Regions from separate parts of the Homo sapiens genome. Here all the other regions are linked to region 3. Evidence: promoter capture Hi-C in human tissues and cell types (Jung and others, 2019). All regions are on one chromosome and are shown on one strand. Each heading gives the region's core, a stretch centred on a gene start or on the middle of the fragment in contact. The rest is flanking DNA. Distances are from core to core; before and after follow the strand shown. Region 1 overlaps CTNNA2 (catenin alpha 2). Region 2 overlaps CTNNA2 (catenin alpha 2). Region 3 holds the start of LRRTM1 (leucine rich repeat transmembrane neuronal 1).

Evidence for each region. Contacts are between HindIII fragments. The study calls those that stand out against the background at their distance.
Region 1: a contact is called between a fragment that was not itself captured here and the fragment with the promoter of LRRTM1 in region 3, in 2 of the 25 tissues and cell types used here (ovary and spleen).
Region 2: a contact is called between a fragment that was not itself captured here and the fragment with the promoter of LRRTM1 in region 3, in 2 of the 25 tissues and cell types used here (spleen and thymus).

The regions. Positions count from the first base shown.
Region 1 is chr2:80,344,742-80,348,648 of GRCh38, reverse strand. The region is part of intron 7 of CTNNA2 (catenin alpha 2); the gene reads right to left. The region is part of intron 2 of LOC105374824 (a long non-coding RNA gene); the gene reads left to right. Among named protein-coding and RNA genes, the nearest start is that of LRRTM1, 42 kb to the right of the region's middle. The HindIII fragment of the contact is 3,351 bases long and covers 312-3,662 here.
Region 2 is chr2:80,248,937-80,252,389 of GRCh38, reverse strand. All of the region lies in intron 7 of CTNNA2 (catenin alpha 2), which reads right to left. Among named protein-coding and RNA genes, the nearest start is that of LRRTM1, 54 kb to the left of the region's middle. The HindIII fragment of the contact is 4,389 bases long and covers 1-3,453 here.
Region 3 is chr2:80,303,044-80,306,801 of GRCh38, reverse strand. LRRTM1 (leucine rich repeat transmembrane neuronal 1) reads left to right here and starts at 2,050. Exons shown (of 2, transcript NM_178839.5): 1 at 2,050-2,650; 2 at 2,924-3,758. The coding sequence starts at 2,983. All of the region lies in intron 7 of CTNNA2 (catenin alpha 2), which reads right to left. RefSeq lists an enhancer at 2,608-3,233. The HindIII fragment of the contact is 15,461 bases long and covers 1-3,758 here.

The DNA of each region.
Region 1 (3,907 bases), core at 738-3,237, 42 kb before region 3:
TACACAAAAATAAACCAGAAATGCTCTTTTTAAAGTTGCTGTTAATCATACACAGCTACGTTTTTCCAGAAACAGCATGGAGGATCAGAAAAGTACGGGCTTTAGGAATCAGATAAAGACTTTTCAAATGCCAAGTTCAACCTCTGGCTTTTCCAATGACCGGCTGTGCAATTTAGGCAGTTATTTAACTTTTTGAAATCTCAGCTCTTGCTGCTTTAAGAGAAATAACTACTGCATAGCATTGGTAAGACCTTTAAATGACATTCTTTAGACCATAACCTTCCCTCTGAAAACATATTCGGAAATGAAATTCAATTAAGCAAATCTTTTGACTGGTCTAGAATAACCATATAAACCAAAGCTATCCATCAATTTTCAAATAAGCAGATAAAATAGAAAAAGCAGTAAACTAAATAGATAACTTACTTGTCTCTGGTGATTAAGAAGACAGCTAACATATGAGTGGATAAAACACAAATAAAAATTTGTGGCTGGTAGAATGCCAGGTCACAAATTGAAAGTCTGTTTCAGAAATTGTCAACTCTTCACCATTCACATGTGCCTGAGATGCATTCTGGTTCTGCTCTGAACTAGAGGCTCTCAAACTCTGTTGTACCTTACAACCACCTGGGGAGCTTTGGAAACCCATCATGATCGAACTGAATCCCATACCAATAAAATCGGGCACTCTGACTGCAGGACCCAGGTGTCAATCAGTATTTTAAAAACTCCCCCCAAGGTGCTCCCAATGCACAGCCATGTTTGGGAAACAGGGCTTTAAACAACCCTTCTGGAAAAAAAAAAAGAAAAGAAAAGAAAAAGGAAAAGATAATGTGCAAATGAATCAGCTGGGGATCTTGTTAAAATAAAGATCCTGAGGTGTGGACACCAGAAACTGCCTTCCAAAAAGCTTCTAGGGTATTCTGATGCTACTGCTCCGGAACTACACTTTGAGTAGCAACCCTAAATCCAGTGTCAACAGCTAAGTATCCACATGGAATGTCAGATACAGTTTGTTGCTTATTTCCATTATGCAATGTGAGCTCAAAGAACACATGCTCCTCTTACTATTACCCCTCCCACCTCCATGAAAAGTTACTGAGAGTCTAAGGAGCGCTGTGCATTTCAAAATCAAATATAAATGAATTAGGTTGGATCGTTCATGTGACTGCTCCTCTCCCCTGGTGATGACATTCGTGGGCACATATATAATACACAGGCACTCTGCTAAAGCAGTCCAAAGCAAGTTTTCTTCGAAATCTCTACACTTGTCTTGGGGCTTTAGCTGAATTTCCTGTTAAATGGCATTAATGAGGACTCAGAGAAATAAAACCACAAAAATTGGTTTTACAGTGTAATGTGGGGAAAGTGACCAAGTGTTCACATGGAGGAATACATTCAACTCATCCCCACGTCCTGTAACTCCGAAGTGAACATTCATGATTTTGAGGCCATTTCCAATTGAAGGTGTCAGCCTAGTAGGGGCAGAGCGCTGAATCTGCCACTGCGGTGCTCGCTGATTGCTATATAGCACAAAGCTTGGTTTATCTCTAGCAGGAAATATGAGTCCACAGATAGCAAAGACTATTTACTGTATCAGCTTCTCTGCAGCCTTTAATCAAGACAGGATCCCAGCATGTAAGTCCAGATCTTCAAACCTTTCTAGCGGAAGCATGGTCACCCATAAATCCTTAATTCACAGAGACCATTTTCCTTAAGAAGTGCTGAGGGCAAAATTCTGCTGTCTTAGAACTTCTCAGCAACAAATGTGCCATTTTATTCAACACATGGGGGTACCTACCTAGGAGATGAATACAGAATTTTAAATTGGAAAGGCAGAAATTAAAATAATTTCATTCCTGGACATTTACATAAACCTCTTTCAAACATGATCTTGTAGGCATTTCCTTTTTAAGGTTTGTGAAATTTAGATAAATACCTTGGGAAGAGAGAAAGGGAGCTTTGGAAATGCATCATGATCAAACTGAACCCCTTATCAATAAAATCAGGCACTCCGATGCTGAGAGAAAGGAAAATGGAAGAACTTGAGGAGTATAAGCAGAAAGCTACAAAGGTGATACAGTTTGGATATTTGTCCCCACCCCAATTTCATGTTGAATTGTAATCCCCAATGTTGGAGGGTGGACCTGGTGGAAGGTGTTCGGATCATGAAGGCAGGTCCCTCATGAATGGCTTGTGCCATCCCCATGGTGATAAGTGAGATCTCTGAGTTCACACAAGATCTGGTCATTTAAAAGTGTGTGGCACCTCTCCCCGGGCACTCTCTCTCTTTTACTCTTGCCTGCTCCCACTTCACCTTCTACCATGAGTAAAAGCTTCCTGGGGCCTTCCCAGAAGCAGAGGCCAGAGCCATGCTTCCTGTACAGCCTGCAGAACCATGATCCAATTAAACCTCTTTTCTTATAAATTACACAGTCACAGGTGTTTCTTTAAAGCAATGCAAGAATGGCCTAATACAAAAGAGTTCAAACATGATTTTCCCCCTTGTAAAATTATGCTAGCGAAATTAAGTCCCCGAAACAAAATAAATAAACAGATCTGAATTCCTGTAGTTCAATTAAATGGTTCAAAAAAATTGTGATCAGAAATGAGTTCCAGTTTTATCTTTCTTATAAATAATTGTGTGAAAATGGAAAATTATTTTCTCCTTATGCCCTTTATCCTCAATCTGCAGGCCACCATGATTTAAGCAGTAGCAATCATCCAACAGACAATAGTAGAGTTTGGCTTTATACTTTGCCTCTTCCTCTAGGCCACGTATGATTAAACAGGAGTTCTTGGGTGTGGAAAACATCCTTGGAAAAATTTAAGAAGATACATTAGCTTTAGAATTTTAGTACAAATTATGTGGGTATAACTTTTTCTAAAAAAAAGTTTCCATAGATTTCATCAAATTTTAAAATAGTTCATAGTCTGTAAGCTAGAAAAGATTAAGAACTATTGAGTCATTCATTCAATTTTTTTTTTTTAAATTAGTCCCTACCATGCATCAGGTACTCTTCCGGGCACTGATGATATAGCAGTGAACTAAACATACAAATATCCCTGCCTCCTAGAAGCTTACATTCTTCTGGGAGGATGCAAACAATTAATAAAATAAGTAAAATAGATAGCACACCAGATGATGATAAATGATACCGAGAAAATAAAGCAGAGATAAAAGCCAAGGCTTGGGAATTGTGATTTAGAACAGTACAGACAAGGAAGGTCTTATGGAGGAGGTGCCACTTGAGCAAAGACTGAGGGGCTGGAGAAACAAGTCATGAATGTCAGTGGGGCAAGGGCCTTCCAGACAGAAGGACCTGCAGATGTAAATGGCTCTGAAGCAGGAACATTGCTGAGAATGGCAATGGGGCTAGTGTGCCAGGAGCTGAATGAAGAAGAGCAGTGGAAGGTAACATCTGTGAGATAAGGGGGAGGGGGCCACAGATGTGGCAGCTATAGACCACTGTAATGATTTTGGCAAACCACTGGAGGGTTTTGAGAAGAGAAATGATTCATTCTAGTTAGATTTTCTAAGGATCACTCTGGCTATTGTGTTGAGAATAGACCTGGAAAGAGGGTGGCAAAGGTGAATATAGGGAGAGCCATTAGGAAGTATTTGTAAAAATTCTGATGCAAAATGATGGAGATTTGGTAGTGATCGGAAGTGGTGAGAAACAGTAAGTGCCCAGATCTATTTCAGTGTAGAGGCAACAGAGTTTGCTAATAGATTAGACATGGAATATGAGAGGATGAAGGGACCCCAAGGCTTTTGGGATAAAGCACTAGGACGATAGAGTTGACTTTGATGGACTTGGGAAGAGCAGATAGAGAGGGATGGTCACTAATTTAGTTTCGGAGGCCATGTGTTGTGGCTCACACCTGTAATCTCAGCACTTTGGGA
Region 2 (3,453 bases), core at 137-2,636, 54 kb after region 3:
AGGAATAAATGGTGCCACTAAACAGAAAAGTAAAGGCATAAAGAATTAGGCATATAACCAAACGGGTAAGTATTTAAATTATCTTCTTAATTCTAAGCCCTCCTCAGAGTTTAGTAATCCAGAAAATATTTATTGAGCAGTAACTATGTGCAAGGTTCTGTTCCAGATATTAAGAGGGTCAGTAAATAAATAAATAAGACTTCATCCTTTTCCTTCAAGAGCTCCCAAAATAGTGAGGCACAGAGAGATGTAAATAACTTACCGTAATATCTAATAGGATGTTTTAAGTATTATAATAGAGGTCTAAGCAACATGCTGAAGCTTGCCCAGAGGAATTGACTCTAGAAAGTTTTAAAAGTTTATTATACAAACAAAATTTAACAATTTGCAAGCAATAATGTGGATTAAATCAACTTCTTTTGACTGAAAATTAATTAAAATAACTAAAACTGCAGCCATTTAAAACGCTGACATTTTGTCTACAAGTTTATTACTAGAACAGGGATTTCAAAATGTGAAGGCAATTTTCTGGTAAAAGTTGGCTAGACTCCACCAGAAAGAGGAAAAGGCGTTAGCTCCAATGACTCTTAATTAAGTATTTGTAGGTAGTACTTCTCAGGTAACTGGATTAATATGGGGCCCAAAGCAGGTTTTGCTGTCTGCCATTTTCTTTTTCCTATTTTTGTTTCTAGCCTTCCAACAATTCAGAAATGAGCAATCATCCAATAACAAAGAGAGCCAGAGCCAAATGGATCAGATCGTGGCTAGACTTAGGAGAAGTTATATCACCTGTAGAAAGTTAGGATCTTTGGTTTGGTTGGCTTTCTTTATAATGTAATGGGAGTCATCACCCTTACTGGTTCCATGGGAGCCTGCTAGAGCCTTCTTTTTCATTACACAGTTTAAGAGGGTTTCATTCAGGTCCCCCTCTTCGTATGGATTTCCATTTTTCAAACTGGGAAGTTGGTGGGGGCCTCTGAACAGAGGCCAGTGATTGCAGTGGTAGAACACCAAACCAAGAATGAATGTCAAGACTGATTATTTGAGCAAACTCACTATATGGTACCAATTTGATTATTGCTTTCAATATCATTATTTAACAAATGGCATCTCAAAGAAGGAGAAAACAATATGTAAAGTTTAAGGAACATGCCGGGTGCCGGACGTAGTTGGCACATGGACTAGATGGACACCAAGATGTGGGTTCTAATAAGCCCTGCATCAGTGCTACTAAGGACTTACTTAAAATTGTCCATAAACGTGTGGGAAGAAACACCATTGAGGAGATATTAAAAGGGTACACTAATCACTCATGACTAAAATTAAAGTATAAAAATGGTACAGATAACAACAGCAATATTCAGAAGGTCAGACCTCCCTTAAGACTCCCTTAAGACTCATTTAGCCCATAAGTTGATGACTACTCTAGAGTTAATTTTTCCCCTTGAAGTATTTGTATTGGGTGTCTGGGGAGAGTTTAATACCTACCAATATCATAGTATGCATAGCACTAGAATTGGAGTGTATTTAGACAACTGTAATCCATTTCCCTAAATTGTATAGCTTAGGAAACTTAGGTTCAGAAGATAAAGTATTGCCCAAAGTCACTAAATGTTAGTGCTAGAGCCAGAACTAGAAGTTCAGCATAGACAGAGGAAGCAGGCTGCCTCTGAACCTTTTATTTTCTCCTCAGCCACAGCCCTGTGTCCTGCATGCTCATTATCCCAATGGAATGACACTTACTAACCTCTCCACTGGCCCATAGCATCAGATCCAGAGGGCAGTCTCCAAGTGTGTTCTCTAAAACATTCCACCTTCCTGGAACCCTCTGCTCCATTGAATGGAGCCCCTTTCTCTTAATTTTCTTCTGACTTCTCTGACTCCTTTTTCTCATTCACTATCACAGGTCTCTAAAATGTTGGTCTTCACTGGACTCCCATCCTCAGCCTGCTTCTCTTCTATCTTTGCGTTTACTCCCTGAAACATCTCTGCAGACTTATATGGATCATATGCTAATAATTCCTGGTTATATGCTAATAACTCCTAAAGGAATATCTGTGAGCCAGACTTGACCCCTGAGCTGCTGATCTCCTGGGCATCTCCATGTGGATTCCCTATAGTCATTCAAATTAACATGTCACCAACTTATTTCAAGACACACACACACACACACACACACACACACTCTCTCTCTCTCTCTCTCTCTCCCCCCATCCATGTATCTATCTACAAATGTGTGTGTGTATCGTGTCAGAAATAATATAGTTGTAAAAAGTGCTTTGAGCTTCAAGTTAAAGACACAGGGCCTAAGAAAGGGGGCGAGGCAAAGAAACAAGAAGCAAATGATTCCATCTTGTATATATGGGAGGAGGGGCTGGAACATGGTTCAATTCTTTCGACTCATAATCAGTTAAATGTAAGTTGCAAATTGCTTCAGAAAATAATAGAAAAAGAACAGAAAGAAAACATTAAGAAAATATAAAAAACAAATAACATGAAGCAAGATATCAGAAGTAACATTATTAAGCTATAAACATAATAATGATGAAGAATTTTTAATAACAGGTATGCTATGGTTTTTCATAACATGGGATGCTTAGTGAAATAAAGCAGGCTATGAAATTGCACGCATATGGATCACAACAATGTGTAACATGCCAGGATGTTGACAGGCAGCTGAATGTAATAGTTTTAAATATGTATCTTAGAATCCCGCAGAACAGGACTTGAGTTCCTAATCCACGAAGCACCAACTGTGTGACCGTGAGCCACCTATCAAACCCACTGTGCCTCAATGTCTTCTTCTTTTTTAATTAATATAATAATAGTAGTTTGTTGGTGAAGATTAAGTTAAAACTATCTTCCAGCTTTAGGAAAGTTCCAGGCACAAAGTACATGCTCAATAAGTGGTTACAATGATTACACTATTAACAGCTTGGTAAACAGTATGCCAGTGTCTTTGATTCATTCCCTAAGAGCTCCCTTCGCAAAGCAATATTGGGGACAAAGCTTGGAAGGGAAGTAAGGAGGCCTGAATCCTGGCTCTCCAACTATCAATAAAAAGCTCAGTGATGTTGAGTAATCCACCTGAATGCCCTATGCGACGAGGAGCTGGTCTCAATGCTCCTGCAGGTTCTTTAGAACTCTATCATAATGGTCAGAGGAAGGATAAATAAAAGGAGAAAAACAGTGTCAAACATGGACTCTGGCCCTTTCTTTGTGTTTTGGTTTGCCTTGCCTTCCAGGTTACTCTCTGTAGAAATAAAAGCATGCTGTGGAAATGAAACCACATCATCACCTTTTCTTCTGGAAGAGCCTGCTGATGATGGAGGAGAGAAGGGCACTGCAGGCTCTTTCTACTAAAACCCTGATTAGAAAAGTAAATCAGGCTCTGCCACCTGACCGTGCAATCACCATGTTCAGCATGTAAATGATATGGATTTCCACTTTTAT
Region 3 (3,758 bases), core at 801-3,300:
TTTTTCCTAGCAACCCTAGGGATTGGGTGGTGTGTACTCACAGTACTCGCTGAATGGCTGGCCGCTGTTTAACCCTGCGGGTGCCTCCTCAACACCCCTCCCCCACCTCCCAACCCTTTAGAGTTTATGGCTCCATCAGCTGGCCTGCTGTCACGAATAATTGTCTTGGCAAGAGGTGAAACCACTTGATGGTGAATTTGTTTGTCTGTCTGTTAAAGTGTTCCGCAGCACCTTGGAGGTGCCAGGATGAAACATGCAAATGCCTGATCCAGAGTTAGGTAGGCAGCAAGAGTGACAGAGAGGCAATCATCAAGAATGGCAAATTAAGAAAGAAAGAAAGAGAGAGAGAGAAAGAAAGAAAGAAAGAAAGAAAGAAAGAAAGAAAGAAAGAAAGAAAGAAAAGAAAAGAAAAGAAAAGAAAAGAAAGAAAGAAAGAAAAAACCATCTGTGCCAGTTGCAAGCTGTATGACCTTGGATAAACCATGATGTCTCTTGGCCTCAGTTTAGTCACGTGCAAAATTAAGGGGGTTGATTTTCTAATGTCTCTTCTAACTCCTAAGACAGCATGTGATGTCTAGGACATTTCAGATTTGTGTTCCTTCCAATTAAATGATACATCTCAGAGATGAATGACCAGGGCAGAGCTCAGATGAATACAAAATGGAATGATTCATGCCCCTGTTCATATGACTTTTCCTGAAAAGTACCACCAGTCTTTGGTGACTTTGATTCCATTGGTTGGCCTCTTCAGCTTAGATGCTAAGGACCAATCCAGTTACTTGTCCAGTCTATCTACCCTGGCTCTGGTAATCCACCCTCATTCCTATCAAAGTAAGTGCCACTACATATAATGCCTACTGATTTTGACTTCCTTAGAGGCAGAAACGATGGGAATTCAAACAGTGGAGCTGGAGACTCACATTTGACTCTCCCTACCATCTCCCTGGGCATCTTTGTCAAGAAGGAAGGCTTGCCCACACTCACTTCCCGCAGGCTTTCTCAGCCATCTTGGAGGACTTTGTTTAAACAGATGACCAACTGACCCTCCCCAGGGCAGACCCTCTACAGACCAGTAGGCACAAGGTGTGTGTGTGGGGAGGTGGGGGGAGAGCTCATTGTAAGGACTCCTATCTATAAATGATTATGAATAGAAATAATGAGGCAAAGGCTTCTCGTCATACTCAGAGGAAAAAGTGGCACAACTTAGTGCAGTCTCAAAGATTAATTAGGATGTGTGTATGGAGACGGGTAGGCTTCATTATGGCTTAAACTATCACGTCCCTACACATTCACACTCTCTTGGAGTGGGGTGCACTGCAGGGCCCAGTAATCACCATGAACAGCACAAGTCAGGGTAAGCCCTCCCCATGTCAGACAGTACAATCGTTCTTTAATCCACTCTGTACCCCATATGTATCTGTGGAGCCTGATGAAGCCCCGGAGGGATCTCAGTCAAGTCTCCCTGCACACAGACATACCTTTTTGCCACACTGGATCTCACACCACCGGGACTTGGATGGCTTCCCAAACTAGGTGGGTTTGGAAAGCATTTCCCCTCTCCACCTCAAAAAAGGGCTGGCTGACTGCAGAATTCCAGTACCCGCAAGAGGGGGAAAAAACCCCAAAAATCTTAGCCAAGCCCCAAATCATTGCCTTCCTGTGTCTTCTCTCAAGTTGCTTTTCTAAAGCAAAGGTCCAAACGTTGATTTCTCTACAGATTCCTACGTATCTCTTACACGTAGACAGTTTTAAAGGGGAAAAGAATATATCCCCAAAAGGCAAGGGGGAGAGCACAGAACATTTCAGTTTCCCACTTGGAAATATCTTGTCGTGGATGATGCTACCCCTACCTCCACCTCCCTCCCCCCTCCTTTTTTTTTTTTTTTTTTTTTTTGAAATATGGACAAAAAAGCTGAAAGTGTTTTCCGTTTCATCAAAAAACATATATTACTTTAGTGGTTCGGTAAAATGTTGGTTTTATGCCCACCCCTTTTCAATCTGCCCATGTCTGAGGTGCTCGGGGAAGACGCACAATCGTGAGCAGCTTACGACACTCAGTGAGCAGTAGGTGCCTGTGCAAGCTCGCGCCGCACACTGCCTGGTGGAGGGAAGGAGCCCGGGCGCCGCTCGCCGCTCCCCGCGCCGCCGTCCGCACCTCCCCACCGCCCGCCGCCCGCCGCCCGCCGCCCGCAAAGCATGAGTGAGCCCGCTCTCTGCAGCTGCCCGGGGCGCGAATGGCAGGCTGTTTCCGCGGAGTAAAAGGTGGCGCCGGTCAGTGGTCGTTTCCAATGACGGACATTAACCAGACTGTCAGATCCTGGGGAGTCGCGAGCCCCGAGTTTGGAGTTTTTTCCCCCCACAACGTCACAGTCCGAACTGCAGAGGGAAAGGAAGGCGGCAGGAAGGCGAAGCTCGGGCTCCGGCACGTAGTTGGGAAACTTGCGGGTCCTAGAAGTCGCCTCCCCGCCTTGCCGGCCGCCCTTGCAGCCCCGAGCCGAGCAGCAAAGTGAGACATTGTGCGCCTGCCAGATCCGCCGGCCGCGGACCGGGGCTGCCTCGGAAACACAGAGGGGTCTTCTCTCGCCCTGCATATAATTAGCCTGCACACAAAGGGAGCAGCTGAATGGAGGTTGTCACTCTCTGGAAAAGGGTGGGTAAGACACTTTTTAATTAAATTCTTTCCCGAAGATTTTTTTTTTCCTCCCTTTTCTTTGCTGCAGCATCTAACATGGACCAAATCACCATCTCTTTGATCTTTCCGTGGCTGTGAACTTTCTATGCTGCCCAGCTTTCTGCATGCTTAGAGGTGAACGTGTGGTTTTTGGGGAGGGGGGTCCTTCTTTATTTCTATGTATTTATTTGATTTTTTGCCCTTTTCTCCCCCTCCCCCGCTTCCCCTCCCTCGGAATAAAATATGATGTAGATTTCTGACCGAGCGCTTCCAATGGACATTCTCCAGTCTCTCTGGAAAGATTCTCGCTAATGGATTTCCTGCTGCTCGGTCTCTGTCTATACTGGCTGCTGAGGAGGCCCTCGGGGGTGGTCTTGTGTCTGCTGGGGGCCTGCTTTCAGATGCTGCCCGCCGCCCCCAGCGGGTGCCCGCAGCTGTGCCGGTGCGAGGGGCGGCTGCTGTACTGCGAGGCGCTCAACCTCACCGAGGCGCCCCACAACCTGTCCGGCCTGCTGGGCTTGTCCCTGCGCTACAACAGCCTCTCGGAGCTGCGCGCCGGCCAGTTCACGGGGTTAATGCAGCTCACGTGGCTCTATCTGGATCACAATCACATCTGCTCCGTGCAGGGGGACGCCTTTCAGAAACTGCGCCGAGTTAAGGAACTCACGCTGAGTTCCAACCAGATCACCCAACTGCCCAACACCACCTTCCGGCCCATGCCCAACCTGCGCAGCGTGGACCTCTCGTACAACAAGCTGCAGGCGCTCGCGCCCGACCTCTTCCACGGGCTGCGGAAGCTCACCACGCTGCATATGCGGGCCAACGCCATCCAGTTTGTGCCCGTGCGCATCTTCCAGGACTGCCGCAGCCTCAAGTTTCTCGACATCGGATACAATCAGCTCAAGAGTCTGGCGCGCAACTCTTTCGCCGGCTTGTTTAAGCTCACCGAGCTGCACCTCGAGCACAACGACTTGGTCAAGGTGAACTTCGCCCACTTCCCGCGCCTCATCTCCCTGCACTCGCTCTGCCTGCGGAGGAACAAGGTGGCCATTGTGGTCAGCTCGCTGGACTGGGTTTGGAACCTGGA